4 separate regions of the Homo sapiens genome follow, and regions 1, 3 and 4 are each linked to region 2. The links are contacts of gene promoters, found by promoter capture Hi-C in blood cells and fetal thymus (Javierre and others, 2016). All regions are on one chromosome and are shown on one strand. The core of a region is centred on a gene start or on the middle of the fragment in contact, and the rest is flanking DNA. Distances in the headings are between cores, read along the strand shown. Region 1 holds the start of NFKB2 (nuclear factor kappa B subunit 2). Region 2 overlaps PPRC1 (PPARG related coactivator 1). Region 3 holds the start of SUFU (SUFU negative regulator of hedgehog signaling). Region 4 holds the start of CUEDC2 (CUE domain containing 2).

The links. The method cuts DNA at HindIII sites, captures the fragments that hold promoters and counts their contacts. A CHiCAGO score of 5 or more calls a contact.
Region 1: the fragment with the promoter of NFKB2 here is called in contact with a fragment that was not itself captured in region 2 in 3 of 17 cell types (endothelial precursors, M1 macrophages and activated CD4 T cells); the score reaches 7.9 in endothelial precursors.
Region 3: the fragment with the promoter of SUFU here is called in contact with a fragment that was not itself captured in region 2 in 1 of 17 cell types (activated CD4 T cells); the score reaches 7.1 in activated CD4 T cells.
Region 4: a contact is called between the fragment with the promoter of CUEDC2 here and a fragment that was not itself captured in region 2, in 1 of 17 cell types (endothelial precursors). The highest score is 5.8, in endothelial precursors.

The regions. Positions count from the first base shown.
Region 1 is chr10:102,394,391-102,397,892 of GRCh38, forward strand. It overlaps NFKB2 (nuclear factor kappa B subunit 2), which reads left to right and starts at 1,315. Exons shown (of 23, transcript NM_001322934.2): 1 at 1,315-1,406; 2 at 1,498-1,590; 3 at 1,863-1,944; 4 at 2,059-2,099; 5 at 2,335-2,433; 6 at 2,514-2,665; 7 at 2,912-3,018; 8 at 3,137-3,295. The coding sequence starts at 1,570. RefSeq lists enhancers at 1-280, 1,331-1,380, 1,791-1,910, 3,382-3,502. The HindIII fragment of the contact is 5,152 bases long and covers 1-3,447 here.
Region 2 is chr10:102,136,907-102,140,245 of GRCh38, forward strand. It overlaps PPRC1 (PPARG related coactivator 1), which reads left to right. Exons shown (of 14, transcript NM_015062.5): 2 at 944-1,132; 3 at 1,713-1,859; 4 at 1,973-2,074; 5 at 2,194-3,339. Among named protein-coding and RNA genes, the nearest start is that of PPRC1, 5.5 kb to the left of the region's middle. RefSeq lists an enhancer at 1,332-2,531. The HindIII fragment of the contact is 765 bases long and covers 1,499-2,263 here.
Region 3 is chr10:102,502,096-102,505,348 of GRCh38, forward strand. It overlaps SUFU (SUFU negative regulator of hedgehog signaling), which reads left to right and starts at 1,877. Exons shown (of 12, transcript NM_016169.4): 1 at 1,877-2,239. The coding sequence starts at 2,058. It overlaps ACTR1A (actin related protein 1A), which reads right to left and starts at 617. Exons shown (of 11, transcript NM_005736.4): 1 at 505-617. The coding sequence starts at 552. RefSeq lists enhancers at 496-595, 3,064-3,253 and silencers at 946-1,015, 1,693-2,162, 2,477-2,771. The HindIII fragment of the contact is 2,134 bases long and covers 699-2,832 here.
Region 4 is chr10:102,430,969-102,434,534 of GRCh38, forward strand. CUEDC2 (CUE domain containing 2) reads right to left here and starts at 1,606. Exons shown (of 9, transcript NM_024040.3): 1 at 1,558-1,606. RefSeq lists enhancers at 1,571-1,700, 1,871-2,040, 1,972-2,607, 2,608-3,241. The HindIII fragment of the contact is 11,516 bases long and covers 1-3,566 here.

The DNA.
Region 1 (3,502 bases), core at 65-2,564, 260 kb after region 2:
TCCGGGTTGGCTGCGCCAGTCCAGAGTTAAACTTTCAGCCAATGAAAAAGGGCGCGAGGCGTGACGCACGGAAACGTCATGGGAATTCCCCCCTCCGGGGGGCCGAGAAGGGGCTTTCCCGGCCCTGAGCCCTGCTGGCAGGCGAGGTGTCGCGACCGGTCCCAGGTGGGTCGGGCGCGGAGAGAAGCCGCAACCAGAGCCGCCGCCACGGTGAGTGGCTGGATTCAGACCCCTGGGTGGCCGGGACAAGAGAAAAGAGGGAGGAGGGCCTTTAGCGGACAGCGCCTGGGGCTGGAGAGCAGCAGCTGCACACAGCCGGAAAGGGCGCGCAGGCGACGACACTCGGATCCACGTCGACACCGTTGTACAAAGATACGCGGACCCGTACGTACACCTGTACCTGTGCTGGCGCACACACGGCAGCGTCCGTGCAGTCGCACTCGCACACACATGCACACGGAGACGTGCCCACCGGTGCACTGGTGCCTGCACCCACACCCTTCACGCACAAACTCAAGATACGCTCACCCGTGTCCGTACATCAAGACAGGCGCTGACACACACCCACACTGAGAAGCTCGGGATTCACCTATCTACACACATGCTCGCTTGCACACTCATGTTGACGCCATGGACACACAACATGCAACCAAGCACTACAGCCGAAACACACTTGTGGAGCTGTGATGGAGACACACTCTTGTATTAGGTGGGGGGGGGGGGGGGGGAGCGTGCAGAGATCTCCCTGTCGCCTGCGCGCCCAGAACCGGTGCGGTGTGGGACCAGCTGCTGTTGTGAGGTTTGGGAGAGAGAGAAAAGAGCCCACTCCGAGGAGGAGACACTTTTCCCGCAGCCCCAGAATCGCGTTCTCGGGGCAGAACCCCGGGGCCTCCCACAGGAAAGAGCCCCCGCCTACAGGCTGTTCGAAGGGGAGGCCGTCCGACAGCAGGAATGTCCCCCCAAAAGCCCCCGGGGTTTATCAGCCGTGGCCTCCCTCCTGGCAGAAAATCCCAAGGTTGCTCCAGACCGGGGGAGGGGAGCGGGAGGCGGACTTGGCCCCAGACTGCCAGCCTCCTCCCGGCCGTGAAAGACCCTCCTGTTCCCTGCCCTGGAGGGAGGAGGGGGCTTAACCCCCACCGGGGCTTCCCGGATTCTCCTAGACCTCTGCCCGCTGAAAAGCAGCGGGAGCCCGTAGACTGTCGAGGGCCTCCCGCCCCTCCCGTCGCGAGGGCGGGGCCAGTGGCGTCATTTCCAGGCCCGCCCCCTCCGGCCCCGCCTCCCCTTGGTATTTTCGGGACTTTCCTAAGCTGCTCTAACTTTCCTGCCCCTTCCCCGGCCAAGCCCAACTCCGGATCTCGCTCTCCACCGGATCTCACCCGCCACACCCGGACAGGCGGCTGGAGGAGGTCGGACCCTCCCCCAAATCTGGGCCCCCATCTCCCGCCCACCCCCATTTAGATCTGACCCCCTCCCCCACGCCACTCCTCCCAACTTTAGGCGGGCGTCTAAAATTCTGGGAAGCAGAACCTGGCCGGAGCCACTAGACAGAGCCGGGCCTAGCCCAGAGACATGGAGAGTTGCTACAACCCAGTGAGTCATGCCGCCTGCCCCTGACCCGGCCGGCTGCCCCTCGTGTCTGTCCACCTGTCTGCCCGAGCCCCCTCTGCTGCCTTACACCTGTATGCTCGCAGATGCTCTCAGCCTGCCAGTCTGTCCATCTGTCTGCAACTCTGCCTCCAAAAGGAGCTTTCTCTTGGGTCTGAGGAGGAGGGGGGAGTGACCACTGAAGACTTGGAGATGGGAGGTGGGGCTGTGGGGGGTGCTGAGAGTCGGATGCCACCCCCAGTCTGTCTCCAAACCAGGGTCTGGATGGTATTATTGAATATGATGATTTCAAATTGAACTCCTCCATTGTGGAACCCAAGGAGCCAGCCCCAGAAACAGGTCAGCAAGTTCACTAACCTCCCCTAGTCCTAAAGCGGGGGAGGGAGAGCATGTGCCCTCTCTCTGGGGGAGGGGCTGGGAGATCGTGGCTCAGCAAGGTCTCTCTGTCCCCAGCTGATGGCCCCTACCTGGTGATCGTGGAACAGCCTAAGCAGGTGAGTGAGCAAAAGGGAGGGTGTGGAATGGCTTCAGCTTTGGGGACAAATGGGGTAGTGGTAGCTGGCTGGCCATGGAGGAGCCATTGCCGAAGGAGGCCACAGGGGATTGGATGGTCACTGCTGCTGATCAGAGTGCTGTAGTTTGGTTCAGGGCTACTACCAGGCACTGCGGTCACTGCTGGCCTGGGTGGTCTTCCCTGATCACAATGCTACTATGCCCTTGGACCTTCAGAGAGGCTTCCGATTTCGATATGGCTGTGAAGGCCCCTCCCATGGAGGACTGCCCGGTGCCTCCAGTGAGAAGGGCCGAAAGACCTATCCCACTGTCAAGGTGAGCCAGGATGGTGCTGGAGGGTGGGCTAAGTGGACAGCATGCCCAAGGCCCTGACTGACAGTCCCTGCCTCTCCTAGATCTGTAACTACGAGGGACCAGCCAAGATCGAGGTGGACCTGGTAACACACAGTGACCCACCTCGTGCTCATGCCCACAGTCTGGTGGGCAAGCAATGCTCGGAGCTGGGGATCTGCGCCGTTTCTGTGGGGCCCAAGGACATGACTGCCCAGTAGGTGCCCTCTACGCCTGGCCCCCACTGGTATGCCCGTCTGCCAGTCCCAGGCCCCAGCCCACCTCCATGAGCTTAGCATCTGACCAAGGGGAAAGATGTAGGTTGGCCCCAAACCCAAGGGCCTAAGTAGAAACTCCAATGGCTTCCTTGAGGAAGTAAGGCTGAGCTGAGCCCTGGCAATGGGAAAGGTGCCTCAGGAAGAAAGAACTGCATGGCCAAAGGCCTCCGATTCTCTCTTCTCAGATTTAACAACCTGGGTGTCCTGCATGTGACTAAGAAGAACATGATGGGGACTATGATACAAAAACTTCAGAGGCAGCGGCTCCGCTCTAGGCCCCAGGGCCTTACGGGTATGGGTGCAGGGGGTGGGTCGGGTATGGGTGCAGGGGGTGGGTGGGTCATGGGAGGTGCTCATGGAAGGAGCAGGGAGGGAGAAGCCCAGGGGTCACACATGTACCTACTGCCCAGAGGCCGAGCAGCGGGAGCTGGAGCAAGAGGCCAAAGAACTGAAGAAGGTGATGGATCTGAGTATAGTGCGGCTGCGCTTCTCTGCCTTCCTTAGAGCCAGTGATGGCTCCTTCTCCCTGCCCCTGAAGCCAGTCATCTCCCAGCCCATCCATGACAGCAGTGAGTATCCTGATTGCCTGGGGTGCCAGGCCTGGTGGCAGAGGTGGCATGAGGGGTGACCTCAAGCTGTGCAGTCAAACAGACCCAGGTTTCAGAACCTGGCCCTGCCACATATGAGCTGAGTGATCCTGAGCAAGTCATTTCCCCCCCGAAGCTTCTGTCTTTAGTAAATGTGTATATTGGGTGTTTCCTGCAGCTCCAGGGGTT
Region 2 (3,339 bases), core at 631-3,130:
TAGAGGAGTGTGGGGCGGGGCCTTTCCATCTAGGGAATCAAGCTTTCTCTTCACTTGCTCTCATCTGGTAGGAGTGGAGAAGAGGCCCTTCCCTTGGAATTACCATTGAGAGGTTGAGTGTCTCACTGTTGGGCCTTCAAAATAAGTGTCGGCCGGGCGTGGCGGCTCACGCCTGTAATCACAGCACTTTCAGAGGCTGAGTCGGGCGGATTACTTGAGATTTGGAGTTTGAGACCAGCCTGGCCAATAAGGTGAAACCCTGTCTCTACTAAAAATACAAAAATTAGCTGGGCGTGGTGGTGGGCGCCTATAATCCCAGCTGCTCCGGAGGCTGAGGCAGGAGAATCGCTTGAACCCAGGAGACCGAACCCATGAGTGTCATGGGGATGGGGGTAGGGGGTGGGGTGTGATTACCAGAAAAGTTAATGCTGCAGAAAAGTCTGTGATTTTAGAGTTGTGAGGAGAGATCACCGTGGGCTGGGGAAGCTGGGGTGTCTTCTTGAAGAAGGTAGGATTTGCACTAAGCAGAGAACTAAATGGGATTTGAGGTAGGTGAGGTTGTTGGAGCTGAAGCTGTCTCCTTGCTGACCTCTTTTGCTTTGGTGTGCCCCTCAGACTGTTATCTTCACTGCTGCCAGTAGATGATTCTGAACAATCTTGATTTTCCTGATGTTTTTACTCCCGGGTTTTAATCTGTGACTCTAGCTGTTTCTGGTTGGAGCCCAAACATTTTTCTGCCCCAGAAGGTCCCTGAAAACTGCCATCCTTATTGGGGTTTTTGCTCATAGGTTGTGCTTCTCTCTGCTCTGCTAGCCCAGAAGTTTGGCGACAGTGTTGCTGCTGCTGAGTTTGGCCCCAGCAGTGGAGGGTACCTGATTTATGGAGCATATTATCAGCTGCTGCCAGAGAGCTCATACCCTTCTCACCTTCTTCTCTGCTCCAGGTGCTGCTGCATGAGGAGGCGGGTGATTCTGGCTTTGTCAGTCTCTCTCGGCTGGGCCCATCTCTGAGGGACAAGGACCTGGAAATGGAGGAGCTAATGCTGCAGGATGAGACACTGCTGGGGACCATGCAGAGCTACATGGATGCCTCCCTTATCTCCCTCATTGAGGATTTTGGGAGCCTTGGAGAGGTGAGCTGGGGCTGGACTCTGAAATCTTCAAGCAGGAGGTTTACATGGGAGGTTCTAGCTCAAATTCTTGGCATGGCTCTGCTCTCCCAGGACCTTAGCTTCTTCCTGGGTGCCCAACCTGAATCCTTGAAGTGTATTTTTTGTCTCTAAGTGGGAATTAGGCTGCAGGCTGCCAGATTATGTCCCATGTAAGAATTCCTTTCCTAGCTTAGACTATAGTCCAAGGCCTTTCCCACTGTCTGGGCCCCTGAACTACATGTCCAGAGGATTCTGATCTCTGTTTTTCAGCTCATTTCTAGCCTAGCCGATGGTTGTCTGCTGAGCATCCCACATCTTATCTGAGGGTAGGGGAATGTGTGAAACCCAAGCTTGAGTCAAGTCTGACAGGTCTCTGTTGACACCAAGAGCTGGTGGATGGTAGCTGAGATTGGAATCCATGCCTTCTGGTATTCAGATCCTTCTCGCTGCCCCATTAGCTGAGTTGAACCTGGGAGACTGATTCTCTCGATATCCAGTCCTTAGTGGCATAGTAGGTCATTAGGGATGTTGGTAGGACCTTCTGGTTGTTTTTCTGGAGCAGAGCAGGTTATCTCTGGAGGACCAGAATGAAGTGTCGCTGCTCACGGCTCTGACGGAGATCTTGGACAATGCAGATTCTGAGAACCTTTCTCCATTTGACAGCATTCCTGATTCGGAGCTGCTTGTGTCACCCCGGGAGGGCTCCTCTGTGAGTGTGGGACCAGGGGAAGGGGATTAGTACAAAGTTTAGACCCATGCCTGTGGACCTACTCATATAGCTCTGAAGCATAGACTGATCTCAGGTCTTTCTTTCCCTCTTAGCTGCACAAGCTGCTTACTCTCTCTCGGACACCCCCAGAACGTGACCTCATCACCCCAGTTGACCCACTGGGGCCCAGTACAGGCAGCAGTAGAGGGAGTGGGGTAAGCCTGACCTAGAGGGTTTCAGAAACTCCCAGGTGGGAGGAGGAGTGTGTGGGGACAGGTCTGGAAAATACTTTCCCAAAGAAAACTCCTCCTGAGACCTCTCTTCTCTCCTGCAGGTTGAAATGTCTCTTCCAGATCCCTCTTGGGACTTCTCCCCACCCTCTTTCTTAGAGACCTCTTCCCCCAAGCTTCCTAGCTGGAGACCCCCAAGATCAAGACCACGCTGGGGCCAATCCCCACCTCCCCAGCAGCGCAGTGATGGAGAAGAAGAGGAGGAGGTGGCCAGCTTCAGTGGCCAGATTCTTGCCGGGGAGCTTGACAACTGTGTGAGCAGTATCCCGGACTTCCCCATGCATTTGGCCTGCCCTGAGGAGGAAGATAAAGCAACAGCAGCAGAGATGGCAGTGCCAGCAGCTGGTGATGAGAGCATCTCCTCCCTGAGTGAGCTGGTGCGGGCCATGCACCCATACTGCCTGCCCAACCTCACCCACCTGGCATCACTTGAGGATGAGCTTCAGGAGCAGCCAGATGATTTGACACTGCCTGAGGGCTGCGTAGTGCTGGAGATTGTGGGGCAGGCAGCCACAGCTGGCGATGACCTGGAGATCCCAGTTGTGGTGCGACAGGTCTCTCCTGGACCCCGGCCTGTGCTCCTGGATGACTCGCTAGAGACTAGTTCTGCCTTGCAGCTGCTTATGCCTACACTGGAGTCAGAGACAGAGGCTGCTGTGCCCAAGGTAACCCTCTGCTCTGAGAAAGAGGGGTTGTCATTGAACTCAGAGGAGAAGCTGGACTCAGCCTGCTTATTGAAGCCCAGGGAGGTCGTGGAGCCGGTGGTGCCCAAGGAGCCTCAGAACCCACCTGCCAATGCAGCACCAGGTTCCCAGAGAGCTCGAAAGGGCAGGAAGAAGAAGAGCAAGGAGCAGCCAGCAGCCTGTGTGGAAGGCTATGCCAGGAGGCTGAGGTCATCTTCTCGCGGGCAGTCTACTGTAGGTACAGAAGTGACCTCTCAGGTAGACAACTTGCAGAAACAGCCTCAGGAAGAACTTCAAAAAGAGTCTGGGCCTCTCCAGGGTAAGGGGAAGCCCCGGGCTTGGGCTCGGGCCTGGGCAGCTGCCTTGGAGAATTCTAGCCCTAAGAACTTGGAGAGAAGTGCTGGACAAAGTAGTCCTGCTAAAGAAGGCCCTCTAGACCTCTACCCAAAGCTGGCTGACACTATCCAAACCAATCCTATACCAACCCATCTCTCATTGGTCGACTCT
Region 3 (3,253 bases), core at 627-3,126, 370 kb after region 2:
CCAGAGTCCCGGAAGCCAATCCCCACAGCCCTGGAGCACTGCCCCGCCCCTTCAAGAGGGAAAACAATATGGCGGCAAGGAAGAATGGCAGGGGCGTGAGCCAATCACCGCAGAGGCCTAGCCTCATCCGGCAAGGCTAAGAGGCGGTATCATTGGCTAAGATGGACAGCCAGAGCAACCAATAGAGCGATCGGAAATGGGGGAGAGGGCGGGCGACGGGAATCTCACACAGCGGTTAAGGCCCCTAGAGCCAAGGGCCCAAGGACTGGCTTGGACTATAACTCTTTCCTTTATCCACTCCAGAGTTCTCCATCCCACTTTTGCTGGCTGGCCGCCTTGCCTGCGGACTATGTGATAAGGGGAGGAAGGAGGCGGCGGTGGCTGAACGCGCCTGACAGGCCGGGCCAGTGACAAAGAGCCGGCGGCTCAGGCTGAACCCCGGGAAGCGATCCTTTCGAGGAGGAGAGCCCAAGTCCCCTTATAGATAGGAAAGACGCAACTCACGTTGTCGATCACGACAGGCTGGTTGGCGATCACATCGTAGGACTCCATGGCAGAGGAATCTCTCCTTCTGGGGAAGGAACTGCCCAGCCGGGTCCGCCGCTAGCGCCACTGACACGCATGCGCAGTCTAGCCGCCGGTTCAGGGCGGCGAGGGAGCGGCCCGACCTCGCCTCTGAAGAACTACAATCCCCAGCAAGCTTTGCGCCTGGGTTAGCGATCTAGCTTGCTTTGTTGCCCGCCTAGTTTAAGATTGGGAGTCGCATTTCCAATGCGCAGTACCCTGGGATTTGTGGTCTCCCTAGATTAAACAGCCAGAGACACAGGTTGATGGTCATGTTGCATGCCTGGATCTGTAGTCCCTTTGAAGGAGTTCGCAGTGCATGCTGAGGTATGTAGTCTTCTCGAGTACTTGTCTGTAGTTCGGTTTGGATTGGTCGTAATTCATGGATGTTTGGATTTTGCAGATCAGCCCTGCCACTCCCCCCGACGTTCCCTTAGACAATATAAGGTTCTCATGTTTTTATTTGGGTCTGTAAGACTTTAATAAACATCTCCTAGCACCTCACACTCTAACAAAAAGGAAATGTTAACACACGTACGCGAGAGGACATATTCCTACAACAAAGGAAAACAATTTAAATTGCATAAAATTAGCTTTAAGTTTAAAAACCTGTACATTGTCGTTGCCTTTTGCATTTTCTTTTTTTCTGCATAACAGGCTAACATTGATCCGAAGATTGGCAATTGGAACTACTGGTATAGGTAATCTTTTGGTCATTAAAACATCATCTAAGGGTTTCAGAAACTGCTCGAGTATCTCTTTAATTTTCATAACGAGCTAGAATTGACACTGATGGTTGAGAAAATGGAGGTGAAGAGAGGTTATGTGTCACTGCTTTCAAATGAGCCCAGTGCATTTTTTTCTCTGGATTATGTTCTCCCCCAGCCCCCTTGAAATTTCAGGGACCTTTTTGTCAATAGCCCTAGAAAACATTAGATTTATTATCATCTATTAATACTAACGCCCCATGGATGAATGAATCAATCCATTGTCAGATTTATGTTTAAATCCTAGTTAGCAGCGCGTCAGCAAAACAGTAACAAATCCTTTGTTGGCGCACTTCTCGCTGCTTTCGTGGGACCTTAGCACCTCAGAGGGTGCTCAGCATCTCTAAACTTGGGTTCCTCCTAACACTAGGGGGAGACCAAGAGCCTTGGGACACTCCCAACACAGGGAGGGGAGGCGGGGCCTATTGTCAAGTCACACCTTCCCTGCCTGTGACTGGCACAGACATTAGCCAATGGGTGCTTGGATAGGGTGCGCCGGCGCCCCGCCCCCCTTAGCGCCCCGCCGCCCCGAGGCACCCTCTGGCAGACTCGGCGGCGGCGACAGCCTGGGCGGACAGTGCGCCGTGCGCAGGCGCGGAGCTAGACCTCGCTGCAGCCCCCATCGCCTCGGGGAGTCTCACCCACCGAGTCCGCCCGCTGGCCCGTCAGTGCTCTCCCCGTCGTTTGCCCTCTCCAGTTCCCCCAGTGCCTGCCCTACGCACCCCGATGGCGGAGCTGCGGCCTAGCGGCGCCCCCGGCCCCACCGCGCCCCCGGCCCCTGGCCCGACTGCCCCCCCGGCCTTCGCTTCGCTCTTTCCCCCGGGACTGCACGCCATCTACGGAGAGTGCCGCCGCCTTTACCCTGACCAGCCGAACCCGCTCCAGGTTACCGCTATCGTCAAGTACTGGTATGCTCTGGGCCGCGGGGAGACGGACAGGCGCGGGCTGGAAAGGGTTAAAGCGCCGAGGGCGAAGTAATTTGTGGGAGGTGGGAGGAGGGGTAGAGAATGGTTAAAGCACTCAGAAGGAGGGCTTCTTGCTGCGAGGGAAGGAGTTAAGGCTCAAGTTGGGAATGGGGACAAAGGGGTTAACGGAGCCCGTGGGTACTGAGGGGTTAACCGGGATTAGGAGAATAGAGTGAGGACTGGGGGTGTGTGTAGGAGCAGAGGGGGGAACGGCAGGAGCGAGGGAACTGTAAACGTGGTGAAAAGAGGGGGCGCCTGTAGGGGGTCATTAGTGGGCGAGGGGAAGCCAAGCGGGGGCGGCCGAAGTGGGATGGGAGAGGCGAGGCGGGGCCTGGGGAGCATTTGAGAGGGCTTTGGAGGAGCGAAGCCGAAGAAGCTCAGAGGGCACGAGACTGCATAGAATGGGGGGTTCGGGGGGCCCAGGGCTCTCCTGTGGTGGGTAGGAGGGCCAAAGATGAGGGCCTGGTGCTTGTGGAGAGAGGAGGAGGTCTCCTTTTGATACCTTCCCGATTAGCTCAGACGTCGTATCAGGGCAAAGCTTTTGCTTTTGAAGTTTGACGGAGCAGCTCTTCCTGATAAACTTTTTGCTTACTCTGCACTGTTCTCTTTCTCCGTGCAGAGCTTCCTCCTAGCTCTGCAGTTGCTTCGCTTTAGGGCATTAGGTAGAGAGAACCATGGTTTGGCTTAGGATTGAAGGGGCCGACAGCTTCCCACCTCCAGTTGGAAATAAATGGTGGAGACTCTGGGACCCCAGCAGGGAGGAATTGTGCAGTGGGACATTAAGAGGAGCTTCTCGGCCATGGCCTGCAGTTTCTCCGGGGAGCTGAGAGTAACCCTCAAGTAGCTTTAGGGTAGGAATGGTCTTTTCTAATTTCCCATTCCTGTTTGCAGCCTGTTTCTTCCTTCAGCATTTGGGCAGAACAGATGTTCTGGGGACTCTGGAAAAGAACCTGTCCT
Region 4 (3,566 bases), core at 356-2,855, 290 kb after region 2:
TCCTGTCATGAGTCCTGCCTAAATGCCTCCGATGATGGTAATATTAGCATTTATTGCCTCTGCTTACGAGGCATTGTCCTAAGCACTTTTACATGTATTAACTTACCTAATCCTTACAATAACTCTAAAATGTAGATACTGTTATTCTCCCCATTTTATTTTATTTATTTTATTTATTTATGTATTTTTGAGACGGAGTCTCGCTCTGCCATCCAGGCTGGAGTGCAGTGGTGCGATCTCAGCTCACTGCAACCTCCACCTCCCTGGTTCAAGCAATTCCCCTGCCTCAGCCTCCTGAGTAGCTGGGATTACAGTCGCATGCCACCATGCCTGGCAAATTTATTTTGTATTTTTTAGTAGAGACGGGGTTTCACCATGTTGGCCAGACTGGTCTCGAACTCCTGACCTCAGGCAATCCACCCGCCTCGGTCTCCCAAAGTGCTGGGATTACAGGCATGAACCACCGCGCCCGGCCGTATTATCCACATTTTACCTGAAAGGAAATGAAGGCACTATGAGGTTAAGTAACTTGCCCAAGGTCACAAGGCAAGTTAATGGCAGATTTACACCCAGGCTGTCTGGATCCAGAACCCTCACTGTTAACCACCACACTACATCACCTCTCACGATGCAAATTGTGTGGCCCCATCCTATATTCTGAATCTCCTCTCCTGCCTGGCTGGCTATATTGTCTATTTCAGAATCTTTGCTCACACCACTCTCCCAGCCCAGAGCATCTGTCCCTCTGCCTCTCCAAATCTCATTCTGCAGGACTCCCTTTCTGCAGCCAACCCTAACTGCCCCACCTTCACTGCTCCCAGCTAGCCTGGGAGCTTCCCAAGGGCAGCACAGGCCTGGACCCTCCAGATGCTAGATAGAGACACTGTGGACAAATTTAAGTGAGAGTGGGGTAAGAAGTACTATGCTGCTCCCTTGGGGTGGGGAGGTGCTTAAAGTGGAGGGAGAGCAGGCCATGTGGGAGGAGGAATCCTGGGAGCTAGTGTGAAAGGAGTCCTAGCGAACTTCTCAGGGAGGCAGCAAGGGGTCTAGCATGGAAGGTCTTCACTGCTTCTCCCAGCCCCTGTGAAGCCCGGTTCCTGAGGCCCTGGACCCATAACGCAGGCCCCAGAGGATATCATTGTCCTCTGATACCCAAGTCAGACCTTAGAGGCACCAAGGGCATTGAGGGGAACAAGGGATCCCTGCATCCAAAGTCAGGCGGGAGCACAAACAGGGAGGGCGAGCACAGGAAGTGGGACCGCGATGATGGACGACCCCTGAAGCAGCAGCTCCCTAAACCCGCTAGCGGGACACCCGTAAGCGTCCAGAATAGTGGGCCCGAAGGCACAGGGATGCGGCTGTGGCCTTGGAGGACACATGACGAGGCAGGCCTGAGCAAACTGGATGTGCCTTGATACAGGCCACGGCGAGAATCAGAGATGGGGGTCCGACGGGCCCCGGGGGGGGTACCGTGGGGGAACACATCGGACGGGTACCCTGGGTCAGCGCTCTCCGCGACTCTCCTAGCCCTGGGCCGGGGGCAGGAGGGGAAATCACCTGCTCCGTCGGGCGCCGCCGGCGACTTGTCCCGCGCGGTGCAGCTCTCATCCCCCAGCCCCACCAACGAGATCAAAGGCGGGGCCCAGAGCGGTTCCCTTCCAGAGGCGCCGTGGCGGCCATGTTTGAGAAGGGCAAGTTGCCCACAACAGGGCGGAGCTCCTGCTCTAATTCTCTAACGTCCCAGGGCTATGGACGGGCTCCCTTGGCGGCCAGTTTTGTTGCGCGTAGGGAGGCGTTAGGCGTGAAGGTCTTGAGAGGGGGTGGAGTCGAAGTGGGTAGGACTGCATCCCCGTCTTGTTCCTTCTCATCCGTCAGAGACCCGAAACCTTTCTCTTTCTTTCTCTCTCTCTTTTTCTCGTCTCTCTCTCTCTCTCTCTCTCACTTTTTTTTCCTTTTCTTCTTCTTTTTTTTTTTTGGGAGGGAGCCTCGCACTGTCTCCCGGGCTGGAGTGCAGTGGCGCGATCTCGGCTCACTGCAACCTCCGCCTCCCGGGTTCAAGAGATTCTCCTGCCTCAGCCTCCCGAGTAGCTGGGATTACAGGCGCGCGCCACCACGCCCAGATAATTTATTGTATTTTTAGTAGAAACGGGGTTTCACCATGTTGGCCAGGCTGGTCTCAAACTCCTGACCTCGTGATTCGCCTGCCTCGGCCTCCCAAAGTGCTGGGATTACAGGCATGAGCCACCGCGCCTGGCCTCTTTTCTTTTCTTCTTTCTTTATTTTCCTTTCTTTCCCTCCCTCCCTTCCTTCCTTCTCTTTCTTTTTCTTCTTTTCTTGCTGTTACAGCCCCAGGCTGGAGTGCAGGTTCACGAGTGCGAACATGGCTCACTGCAGCCCCGACCTCCTGGGTTCAAGTGATCCTCCCATCTCAGCCTCTGGAGTAGCTGGAACCACAGGCGCGTGCCACCACGCCGAGCTAATTTTTTTTTTTTTTTTTTTTTTTGTAGAGACAGGGTTTTTGCCACGTGGCCCAGGCTGGTCTCTTAGGTACTGACTTCCCCACCCTGTCTGTACCTTTTGCATTCCCTTAACAGCAATGTCTCCCCTAGATTGGGGTGAGCTACAGGTCTGTGTCTCCGGAGGGTGGAGCCTGGGATTTTGGACGTGGTCTGGGAGAGGTGGAGTGGTAGCAGGTGCCAGGATGAGGATCCACCTGAGCCCTGTCATGGACAGCCTGTAGACCATGCCTACCCCCCGGGGCCTTCATCCCCCATGTTGGCAGGGCTGCTTGTCTAGGACAGGAGAGCTGAACTCCAGGGCCCAACAAGACTTCAACTTCCTCTTTTTGTTCCTGCTGCCACAGATTCCCGGTGCTGCCCTGTGGGGAAGCCCCACAGCCCTCCCCTCTTGGGAACCCTGAAATGGGTCACAAGGGGAAGAGTCCCCTTCAAGGATAAAATTTCCCATCCCCCATCAGCAGGGATGAGCCCTTTTTAGTGCTAGTTCCTTCGTGGGGTGCTGGGGACCCGGAAGCTGTCCCTGCCCTCAGGGAGCTCACAGTCCAAGAGAGAAGTCCCATCTTTCCTCTCTCCTAGGGACTAAGGCAGTGCCAAGATACTATGCTGCAGTGGCTCACACCTGTAATTCTAGCACTTTGCAAGGCTGAGGTGGGAGGATCGCTTGAGCCCAGGAATTTGAGACCAGCCTGGGCAACATGGCAAAACCTCGTCTCTACAAAAAATTTAAAAAATAAAAAATTATCTGGGCATGGTGACACACGCCAGTAGTCCCAGCTACTCCAGAGACTGAGGTGGGAGGATCATTTGAGCCCCAGAGGTCAAGGCTGCAGTAAGCCGTGATTGTGCTACTGCACTCCAGCCTGAGTGACAAAGCAAGACCCTGTCTCAAAAAAAAAAAAAAAAAAAAAAAAGAAGAAGAAAAGAAGGAGAAGGAAGAAGAAGAAACTATGGAGAAAACGGGATGACTGCTTATTGCTTTCTCTTCCACCTCTGGTCCTCACAACAGCCTCCTTCCTCTTCTGGCCTCAGAGACAGCAAGATGTTGGC